2 separate regions of the Homo sapiens genome follow, and region 2 is linked to region 1. The links are contacts of gene promoters, found by promoter capture Hi-C in human tissues and cell types (Jung and others, 2019). All regions are on one chromosome and are shown on one strand. Each heading gives the region's core, a stretch centred on a gene start or on the middle of the fragment in contact. The rest is flanking DNA. Distances are from core to core; before and after follow the strand shown. Region 1 holds the start of HAUS1 (HAUS augmin like complex subunit 1). Region 2 overlaps LOXHD1 (lipoxygenase homology PLAT domains 1).

Region 1 (5,666 bases), core at 2,254-4,753:
GACCAACATGATGAAACCCCGTCTCTGCTAAAAATACAAAAATTGGCTGGGTATGTTGGCGGGTGCCTGTAATCCCAGCTACTTGGGAGGCTGAGGCAGGAGAATCACATGAACCTGGAGGCAGAGGTTGCAGTGAGCCAAAATCATGCCATTGCATTCCAGCCTGGGCGACAGAGTGAGACTCCATCTCAAAACAAACAAACAAAAAAACTGGTTTAGGTTATAGCGGGCAGTTTCAGCAGCCAGGCTTACAGATAATTACATTTTTGGAGCAATGTTATGTGCCCTGAGTGCTTTTTTTTCCCTTTACCTCTTGACACTGTTTTAGTTGGGGATGACAAGAATGACCCAATCAACTTTCACAAGCTAACAGGAAAAAATATCGTTTCTAAAAACAACAAGGCCGGGCATGGTGGCTCACGCATGTAATCCTAGCACATTGGGAGGCCAAGGCAGGCAGATCGCCTGAGGTCAGGAGTTCAAGACCAGCCTGGCCAACATGGCAAAACCCCGTCTCTACTAAAAAATCAAAAATTAGCTGGGGGTGGTGGTGCACACCTGTAACCCCAGCTACTCAGGAGGCTGAGGAAGGAGAATCGCTTGAATCCAGGAGGTGAAGGTTGCAGTGAGCCAGGTGGAGGTTGCAGTGAGCCAAGATTGCGCCTCTGCACTTCAGTATGCGCGACAGGAGTGAGACTATCTCAAAACAACAACAACAATAACAACAAAATTAGCCGGCATGGTGGCTCACACCTGTAATCCCAGCACTTTGGGAGGCTGAAGCAGGTTGATCACTTGAAGTCAGGAGTTCAAGATGAGTCTGGCCAACATATCGAGATCCCTGCACCCCCTGCCCCATCTTTAGCTGGGCATGGTGGCACATGCCTGTAATCCCAGCTATTTAGGAGGCTGAGGCACGAGAATCACTTAAACCTGGGAGATGGAGGTTGCAGTGACCACTGCACTCCAGCTTGGGCAACACAGTGAGATTCTGTCTGAAAAAAAAAAAAAGGCCGGGCATGGTGGCTCATGCCTGTAATCCCAGCACGTTGGGAGGCTGAGGTGGGCGGATCACGAGGTCAGGAGATCGAGACCATCCTGGCTAACATGGTGAAACCCTGTCTCTACTAAAAGTACAAAAAATTAGCCGGGTGTGGTGGCGGGCACCTGTAGTCCCAGCTACTCGGGAGGCTGAGGCAGGAGAATGGCGTGAACCCGGGAGGCGGAGCTTGCAGTAAGCCGAGATTGCTCAACTGCACTCCAGCCTAGGCAACAGCACAAGACTCCCTCTCAAAAAAAAAAAAAAATTGCAGGGATATTTTGTAAAATTTGTAGTGATAAAAGTGGACAAAAGACATAAAGATAACTTTTTTTGCCCCATACTGAAGGGCTGCACCAGTTTATCTGAAATTTGGTTACAGAGCAGAGATATATTTAGTTTTTGTTTTTTTTTGTTTTTTGTGGTGGATTCTCACTCTGTCGCCCAGGCTGGAGTGCAGTGTCTCAATCTCAGCTCACTGCAAACTCTGCCTCCAGGGTTCAAGTGATTCTCTTGCCTCAGCCTCCCAAGTGGCTGGGATTACAGGCACGTGCCACCATGCCTGGCTAATTTTTGTATTTTTAGTAGAGATGGGGTTTTGCCATGTTGGTCAGGCTGGTCTTGAACTCCGGACCTCAGGTGATCCACCTGCCTCGGCCTCCCAAAGTGCTGAGAATATAGGTGTGAGGCACCGCATCCAGCCAGAGCAGAGATATGTTTGAAGCAAAAAGAATAAGCAAGACAGGCTGGGTGTGGTGCCTCATGCTTGTAATCCCAGCACTTTGAGAGGCCCAAGTGGGAGCATCACTTGGGGCCAGGAGTTCAAAAACAGCCTGGGCAACATAGTGAGACCCTCTTTCTACAAAAAATACAAAAAGTTAGCTGGGTGTGGTGGTGCACGCCTATAGTCCCAGCTACTAAGGAGGCTGAAGCGGGAGGATTGCTTGAGCCCAGGAGTTCAAGGTTGCAGTGAACTGTGATCACCACTATACTCCAGCTTGGACGAAAGAGCAAGACCCTGTCTCTAAAAATAAAATAAAATAAATAATAAATAAGCTTGGCTTGCTAGTAAGTTTCCTTTGAAAAGAAAATCATTTTAGGCTGGGTGTGTTGGCTCACACCTGTAATCCTAGCTCTTTGAGAGGCCGAGGCAGGCAGATCACTTGAGGTCAGGAGTTTGAGACCAGCCTGATCAACGTGGTGAAACCCCCCGTTCTACTAAAAATAAAAAAATTATCCCTGCATGCTAGCACAAGCCTGTAATCCCAGCTACTAGAGAGGATGAGACAGGAGAATTGCTTGAGCCTGGGGACGGGGGTTGGAGGTCGCAGTGAGCCAAGATCATGTCACTCTGCACTCCAGCCTAAGCGACAGAGAAACACTCCATCTCAAAAAGAAAAGAAAAGGTCGGGCGCAGTGCCTGTAATCCCAGCACTTTGGGAGGCCAAGGCGGGCGGATCACCTGAAGTCAGGAGTTCGAGACCAAGCTGGCCAACCTGATGAGATCCCATCTTTACTAAGATACAAAAAATTAGCTGGGCGTGGTGATGCACACCTGTAATCCCAGCTACTCGGAAGGCTGAGGCAGGAGAATCGCTTGAACCCGGGAAGCAGAGGTGGCAGTGAGCTGAGAGCCGAGAGCCGAGATCGTGCCACTGCCCTCCAGCCTGAACAACAGAGACTCCATCTCAAAAAAAAAAAAAAAAAAAAAAAAGCTGGGCGCGCTGGCTCACGCCTGTAATCCCAGCACTTTGGGAGGCCGAGGTGGGCGGATCATGAGGTTAGGAGTTCGAGACCAGCCTGGCCAATATGGTGAAACCCCGTCTCTACTAAAAACACAAAAATTAGCCAGGCGTGGTGGCGCTTGCCCGTAGTCCCAGCTACTTGGGAGGCTGAGACAGAAGAATCGCTTGAACCCAGGAGGCAGAGGTTGCAGTGAGCCGAGATCATGCCACTGCACTCCAGCCTGGGCGACAAAGCGAGACTCTGTCTCAAAAAAAAAAAATGTCCCTAGTTTTTAGGTTGGGGGAACTAACGGATCAAGTTAAGATTGCCTCAGCTCATATTGCCAGGGTAGAATATAAATTCTGAGTGGATGCAATCAATGTGGAAGAAACACAAACATCTTGCTAAGCAAGAACCAAACGTTTCAAGTACTTTTTTTTAACGACAAGTGATTCAAACAAGAAATAAAAATAAAAGAAAGAAAAAACAACCTGGTTCTAGGCGGCTCTATCTCTCGTAGTGTTGATTATACCGCGGAAGGCGGGAAGAGCTGGGAAGTGGCAACGAAGCGAGGCTTGCAATGCCAGAGCCTTCGACCAGCCTTGCACAGGGGCTCAACGGCCAGGAGTCTCAGGTAAAACCACAACTCCCAGAAATCCCGGGCCCGGCGAGGGGCGGGTGCCAACGGCGTGTGGGCGGGGCCTAGGGAGTGAGCGGGGCGCATCTCCCGCTAGGAGTTCCTAGTAAAGTGGCGGGAGCCGCAGCTATGGAGCCGCAGGAGGAGAGAGAAACGCAGGTGATGGGGCGGGAATGGGGATCGTTGGCCTCCTGGAAAACGCGTTTTTGACACCCCCGCGCCGACAGCGGGTCTCCTGTGCGCGCCACGTCTACTTTTCTCTCCCCTATTCCACACATCCGTCTTTTAGTGCCGCCGTCACTATCTGCAAGCCCCCCGTGCTTAGACTCTCCTGAAGGCCTTTCCCTTCCTGCCCGGGCCTCCCCTTGTTTGGATCTGGCCCGGGAGAGGCGTTGAGCAGCCCGTGTCCACAGACTCTGGAGTGGGACTTATGAAGCCAAACCCGCCTTCCGGTTCGCTGCTCAGCCCGGCGGCTTCCACATCTGAACTGCTTCCGCGCCCTGCATCCCAACACTGGGAGCCTCCCGGCGCGGCGGGGCTTCTGGTGATCGAGGGACAATTGCTTTTTTCAGACCATGCACGGTCTAATAATGCGTTCGCATTATTATGGTCTATTAAGCTTTAAGGTTTTTCAAGCGAGGCAAATTGTTAGCCTGTACCGCTTTTGCAGATTTGGAAAAGAACGGATTGTTCTCTGGTAATTTTCAGTATTGTACGTTTCTTTGTGTACTTGCTCACTTTTTATTTCCTGATATCTAGTATCTCCCTAAAGACAAGTGAGGTTGTGAAGTAGGACTCCAAAATAGTCACAGAAAGCATTTAGTTTGCTTTTGATCACTTCTTTGTCATATTCTCATCGAGCCATTACAGTAAACAAGGCTTATAATATTTGTCTTTCTTTTAATGGTTAGGTTGCTGCGTGGTTAAAAAAAATATTTGGAGATCATCCTATTCCACAGTATGAGGTGAACCCACGGACCACAGAGATTTTACATCACCTTTCAGAACGCAACAGGGTCCGGGACAGGGATGTCTACCTGGTAATAGAGGACTTGAAGCAGAAAGCAAGTGAATACGAGTCAGAAGGTGAGATTAAGTCCAGAGTTTTGAACGAGAATAAATAGAGGTAACCAAATTTTATAACACTAAAGTATACAGGATTAATTTACTGTAGACTACTTGTTTTGCTCCTTTATTTTTCCCAGATTTTCTTCCACTCTGTTATAGTAGTAACTTTATTGTTTTATGTTTATATATATGTATATGTATGTGTGTGTGTGTGTGTGTGTGTGTGTGTGTGTGTGTGTGTGTATATATTTTAGACAATCTTGCTCTGTCGCCCAGGCTGGAGTGCAGTGGTGTGATCTCAGCTCACTGCAACCTCCATCTCCTGGGTTCAAGTGATTCTCATGCCTCAGCCTCCCAAGTAGCTGGGACTACAGGCCTGCACCACCACACCCGGCTAATTTTTGTGTTTTAGTAAAGACAGGGTTTCACAATATTGGCCAGGCTGGTCTCGAACTCCTGACTTCAGGTGATCCGCCTGCCTCAGCCTCCCAAAGTGGTAGGATTAGAGGCATGAGCCACCCTGCCTGGCCAGTAGTAATTCTCTAAGTAATAAATGTTATTATACTAAATATCTTATTGGTACTCTGATAGCAAAACAGTAAGCCTTAAAAGAGTCTAAACTTGTTAGTCTGACACACAAGATGCCTTGTGGTTTTTTACTTACCTATCTGTTTTTTCTGTTTCCGGTCTCCATGATTTAGTCATACGGACCTATCAGGACACCTGAGGTGGTGGCCATGAAATGTGAGACTTGGACGAAATTACTCTATGACTACGTATCAGGAGATTGCATTAGAATTTTCTGCTGGGCATATATAGTTTGAAAAAGTGCATTCAAGGCCGGGCACGGTGGCTTACGCCTGTAATCCCAGCACTTTGGGAGGCCGAGGCGGGCGGATCACAAGGTCAGGAGATCAAGACCATCCTGGCTAACACGGTGAAACACCGTCTCTACTAAAAATACAAAAATTAGCCGGGCGTGGTGGCGGGCGCCTGTAGTTCCAGCTGCTCGGAAGGCTGAGGCCGGAGAATGGCGTGATCCCAGGAGGCGGAGCTTGCAGTGAGCCGAGATCGCACCACTGCACTCCAGCCTGGGCGACAGAGCAAGACTCCGTCTCAAAAAAAAAAAAAGAAAAAAAGAAAAAGTGCATTCAAGATGCCTATTGTTTTGATAATACAAACCACAAAAGTAAAGAT
Region 2 (5,666 bases), core at 2,483-4,982, 370 kb after region 1:
TCTCATCATAGAAAATATTCTAAGCCATGAAATAGACTCATTTACCTACACACATCCATCCACTCGCCAACTCTCCATCTATCCATCCACCCATCCACTCATTCATCCACCCTCTCACCCATCTGTCCATTTATCCACTCACCCATCCTGTCAACCAGTCAGCCAATCAGCCAGCCAGCCAGCCAGCCAGCCACCCAGCCACCCAGCCACCCAGCCACCCAGCCACCCATTCACCCACCCATCCACCCATTCACGCATTTACCCATCCATCCATCCACCCACCCATCTATCTACCCATCCACCCATTTATCCATCCACCCACCCACCCATTCATCTATCCATCCACCCATCCACCCACCCATTCACCCGTCTATCCATCCATCCACCCATCCATCTATCCATCCACCCATCCAACCACCCACCTACTCATATATCCATCCATCCACCCATCCAACCATCCATTCATCCATTCATCCACACACCCATCTATCTACCCTTTCACCCATCCACCCACCCATCCATCCATCCATCCACCCACCCATCCAACCATCCATTCATCCATTCATCCACACACCCATCTATCTACCCTTTCACCCATCCACCCACCCATCCATCCATCCATCCACCCACCCACCCATCTATCCACCCATCCCCCCATCCACCCACCTACCCATCCATTCATCTATCTATCCATCCATTCACCACACATGCACTTAGTACCCACACTATGCCCTGGGGCCTGTGCTAAGTGCTGGGGTTACAGAGATGAGTGAGACCTAGCTTTTCTTCTTAAGGACTCACACTCCAGTTAGGAAGACACATGAGGAGACACACAATTCCAACATACTTCTCATAGATGTGGGTGGGCTTCTAGCTCTGTCTTGGGGGAGGGGTAATGGAAATGTTTCCTGGAGTGATTGGAGGCCTTGAGTTGAGATGTAAAGAATGTGATGCACAGAAAAGGGGCTTCCAGGAGCCTGATTAGAGGGGCCCAGAACTTGCCTCCTCCACCAAGAACAACCAAAACAGCGAGTAGATAACCAAACATCAAATAGAGCTTCCAAGAGAGAACACTAGAATTCAGCAGGGAAGTGACAGGGAACTTCTAAAGCATGGAAGGAGAAGGCAGGGATTGGCTCAGAGCCAGGAGGGGAAAAGGTAAGCAAGAGATCCCCAGTGGTCCACATTACACTGCAGACTCCTGCAGTCCTCATCATGGGAGAGTCCTTCAGCCCTCATGGGCCCTGAGACAAGTATGGAGAGCTGCCTGGAGCCCATGCGACTGCATTTCTCCAGAGATCGTGTTCATGCCGAGTCCACACACCCCCTGAGATCAAAGTAGCTGCAGCACAGCACCATCTTAAGAACCCAGCCACCACCAGACTATATCCTGCCCAGGGCCCAAAAACCCCTGCATCTCCACATCCCTGGAGACCCACCCACAACCCCCACATCTACCCAGGGGGCTGCAGCATTGCAACAATGGCTGGACCCAGGAGTGTGACCAAGTCCCCAGCACTCTAGCCCACGTAGTATCCTATACCTTGAGGGATGGGTGATGCAGCATGCCAAGGAGTCTCCCCTGGGGACAAAGGGACCTGAAGTGTGTGCTCCCCAGAACCTGAGGGCCACCTGCCCTGGACTGCTGCCATTGCCCTTCAGCAGCAGAGCAGCAGGTCATGATCTCACTCAGAAGTGGGAGATAAGAAAGTTGTTCTCATGGAGGTAGAGAGTAGAATGATAGTTATCAGAAGCTGGGAATGGGGTTGGGAGGAATACAGAGAGGCCGGTTCATGGGTATAAACATGCAGTTAGATAGGAGGAATATGTTCTAGAGTTTTACAGCACAGTAGGGTGACTCTAGTTAACAATAATTTATTGTATATTTCAAATTAGTTGGAAGAGCAGATTTGAAATGTTCCCAATACAAGGAAATGATAAACATTCGAGGTGATGGATATGCCAATTACCCTGATTTAATCATTACAGATTGTATACATGTATCAAAATACCATATGTACCCCACAGATGTGTATAATTATTATGCATCAATTAAAAAAAAAGAATGTGGGCCGGGAGTGGGGACTTTGGGAGGCCGAGGTGGGTGGATCACCTGAGGTCAGGAATTCAAGACCAGGCTGGCCAACATGGTGAAACCTCATCTCAACTAAAAATACAAAAATTAGCTGGGCCTGGTTGCATGTGCCTGTAATCCTAGCTGTTTGGGAGGCTGACACATGAGAATCACTTGAATCCAGCAAGTGGAGGTTGCAGTGAGCCGAGATCGTGCCACTGCACTCCAGCCTGGGTGACAGAGTGAGACATCATCTCAAAAAACAAAACAAATCATAATAATAAAAAAAGAATGTGAAGCACAGTGCCTGGTAGGGTGGAGGAATGGATGGGTGGCAAGGAGACTTCAGGCACAGATCAGCCCTGGCAGAGGACAGCAGAGAGGACAGTGTGTGTGACATTGCTGGGGGCCACCCTGCTGGGCACAGAGCTGTGGGCGACTTGCCCAGATGGAGATGGCCCAGGTCCAGGGACTTGGAGAACCAGGTAGGGGGCAGGGGGTGGGGAGGCCTGTGGGTAAGAAAGTGCCCCGGAATGGACCAAAGGTATTAATGAGTTTTAATGGAGCTCTCGAAGCAATAGTTTCCTCAGATCCCAAGTCCTCTGAGGAAAGCCGAGCCAGCAGGGCAGGTAAAGGATGGCCGGAAAGCTCTCTAAGGTCCTGGGGTATGTTGTTGAGCCAGGCCAGCACTACCCCATCGATGGTAAGCCAAAATTCACAGGACACACCAGCAACAGGATGGTAACGGGTTCCTCCTGTACCAGCAGTGGCCGAGTCACCCACAGATGCCACACTCTGCAGTGAGAGCCCTGTGTATCTCTTGCCAGAAGGACAGGGCAGAGAACCAGTTTGGACTCTGGGCTGCACACTCATCTCCAGGTCCTGACAGGGAATGGGGAGGCTGAGAGGAGGCAGTGGATTCGAGGGCAGGACATCCTGAGAGGCCTGCTGTGGGGCTGAGCGTGCGCCCTGCCTCCTGGCTGCCCTTGAATCTGAGGCAAGCGACTGGGGCTTCAACAGGGCTATGTGAGATGGGGTGTGACCATACACGGCAGACAAGCTGCCTGCCCACTCTGGAGACATGGCTGGGATGAGATGGGCTGGCCCCGGTCACAGAGAGGTGAGTGGCCTGAACGGCTGGAGTGTGTCAGAGAGAAGGGTGCCCGAGGGCCTCTTGTGGAGTGTCTCAGATCCTAAACAAGAGGACAGTGTGGAGGGTGAACCCACACAAGTGCTCATGAAAGTCTAAACACCTGCCAGGTCTGGAAACAAAGACACTAGCCACAATAGCAGCCCTCAGACAGGAAGCTGCCTGCTGCCTTCACCTCTCTTCCTCCCGCAGGAGTCTGAAACCCTGGGTCACCAAAAGGCAGGAGGAGGAGGGACAGGGCAAGGCAGGGGAAGAGAGGGGAGGCTGACTCACATACACACATATGCATGCACACATCACACCCACATTCATGTACACACACACAGATTCACATGCATGCACAGCACAATCACACACTTGTATACACACACAGGCACACAGATTCACATGCATGCACACACTGCACTCGTGTTCACACACACATGCCTTCACACACCCAGATACACTTGCATGCACACACACCACACCCACACTTGTGTACACACATGCACACATATTCGCATGCACGCACACACACCTGCACACACACTGATGTGTGCGCACACACATGCTCTCACACATCTTCACATGCATACATTCACCCTACACACACCCACACTCATGTACACACACATGCCCAGTGATTCACATACAGGCACACACCACATATATACTAATGTGTACACCCACACATTCAAACACACACTATACCTTATACCTGCACACTACATAATACACTCACTGCACACACACTCACACCCCTCCCTCACTGTGGGCCCACCTGTGACGGGACTGAGCCAGGAGATGGCAGGAAGCTTAATTTTAAGTTTGATGTTTTAATCTTTACTTTGGGGCTGGACATTTAAATTATAGAATGGAGATGGATTTCATGACTTAAAGTGTTTGTTGGACTTTTTATTACCTACTGGAGTCCACAGGAGTTGTGAGGCTTGTCTAAATTTTCATCTAGGGACAGGGGAAGAACCAGTTCCACAGAAGGAGATGGAAACAAAGCTGTTTAATGATGCCATCTTCCCCTCCCCATCCCCCAAGTCCTGCGTGTTCAGCATGGTGGATATACTCACTATCTGGTGTAGGCACTGAATTTAAACTACATACACATGAACTCATTTAGTCCTCATCATAACCTACAAGGTGGGCATTGTGATCATTCCCCCTGTGTTACAGATAAGGAAACTGAGGCCCAGAGAGAGAAAATAATGTGCCCAAGTTCTCACAGTTGCAAAGAGGCAGAACGGGGATTTAAACCCAGGCTGGTTGCCCCCAGAGCCTGTGCATTTAACCTCTCTCTGAGAGATCTCTGAGAGGGGCCTGAACTTGCCTCAGGGTCCTGAAGCCTCACTGCGAGTTTAGACCTTTCTGGGACAGAGGGTGCAGGGACAGCAAAGTGGCAGAAACACTGGTCCTGGGGTGCCCTCCTGTAGGGATATTTTCCAGCCCGACCCACCTTGTTGCTGTCCTTTTCTCTACAGGAAAATCAGAAGTTAGGTGCTGAGCTCTGCGAAGTCTTGCTGTGACTTTGTGACTGCCGATCAGGGAGAGTGTGTGTGCATGTGTGAATCTGTGTGGGTACTCAAATGTACAGTTCTCCTGCTGCCTCTCCATCAAGGTCACATTCCCCTTGAGGGTAAAGACCAGGTCTTCACTTTGTTCCCAAGCCCCTCTCAGCTCTCAGTCCAAACCTTGCCCACAGAGAGCCACAGGTGATAATCACCAAATAACCTCAATGACCCTGCTTTCTCTCCCGGCCTTAGAGTGCCAGTGACCAGGCTGTTGCAGGTGCCATCCCTATCACCTTTGTGTCCAGTCCTGACTGTGTTAGCACAGGCTGGGATAACCAGCAGGCACTTGCCAATGCGTTCTCTGTAAAGTGATGGAAAGAATTATCTACTTTTCACAGGCTCATAAATCCCCCGGCAAAACACTTCTTCCTGAGGTTTTTCTCCACTTGCCACTGGGTTTATTGAAACTGGGGAAAAGTATACACTTCTTAGCAAGCAGATGCTAAGATGAGTTCTTTATAGGATATGGTTGGTAATAATTTAATTAGCCTAGCTTTTTTGGGGAAAAGTGTTAATTAGTTTTTGCTTAAAATACACCATCTTGATGGCCTCTGCTTCTCCACTTCTATCCCCTGGGTGAAGACTCAATTTCTCATCCACACTCTGCAGCAAGTCCCAGCCTGGTCACTACTGTTATTACAGAAAAAGGAAATACAAAAAATTATTTTTGGGCAGCCACAGATTATGACACATGCTAATTATTATCACTGTAGGTTCAATAAACTGGGGGTAGGGTGGGGAGCAGGACCCCATGAAGTTCTCAGTGGACTGCTAGCCCCCAGTGCCAATGCTAGAGGCTTTGAAGGGCTGCTGACCGCCAAGGTGGAGGGCAGAAATGTGAGATTGGGGCATCTCAGTGAGAGGGTGGGGGCCCTAGCCC

What was found. Contacts are between HindIII fragments. The study calls those that stand out against the background at their distance.
Region 2: a contact is called between a fragment that was not itself captured here and the fragment with the promoter of HAUS1 in region 1, in 1 of the 25 tissues and cell types used here (heart right ventricle).

The regions. Positions count from the first base shown.
Region 1 is chr18:46,100,882-46,106,547 of GRCh38, forward strand. It overlaps HAUS1 (HAUS augmin like complex subunit 1), which reads left to right and starts at 3,504. Exons shown (of 9, transcript NM_138443.4): 1 at 3,504-3,560; 2 at 4,313-4,487. The coding sequence starts at 3,531. It also overlaps a transcript of ATP5F1A not described here. RefSeq lists a silencer at 3,329-3,428 and an enhancer at 3,819-3,908. The HindIII fragment of the contact is 15,712 bases long and covers 1-5,666 here.
Region 2 is chr18:46,471,805-46,477,470 of GRCh38, forward strand. LOXHD1 (lipoxygenase homology PLAT domains 1) reads right to left here. Exons shown (of 41, transcript NM_001384474.1): 41 at 5,469-5,666. Among named protein-coding and RNA genes, the nearest start is that of ARK2C, 140 kb to the left of the region's middle. The HindIII fragment of the contact is 6,562 bases long and covers 452-5,666 here.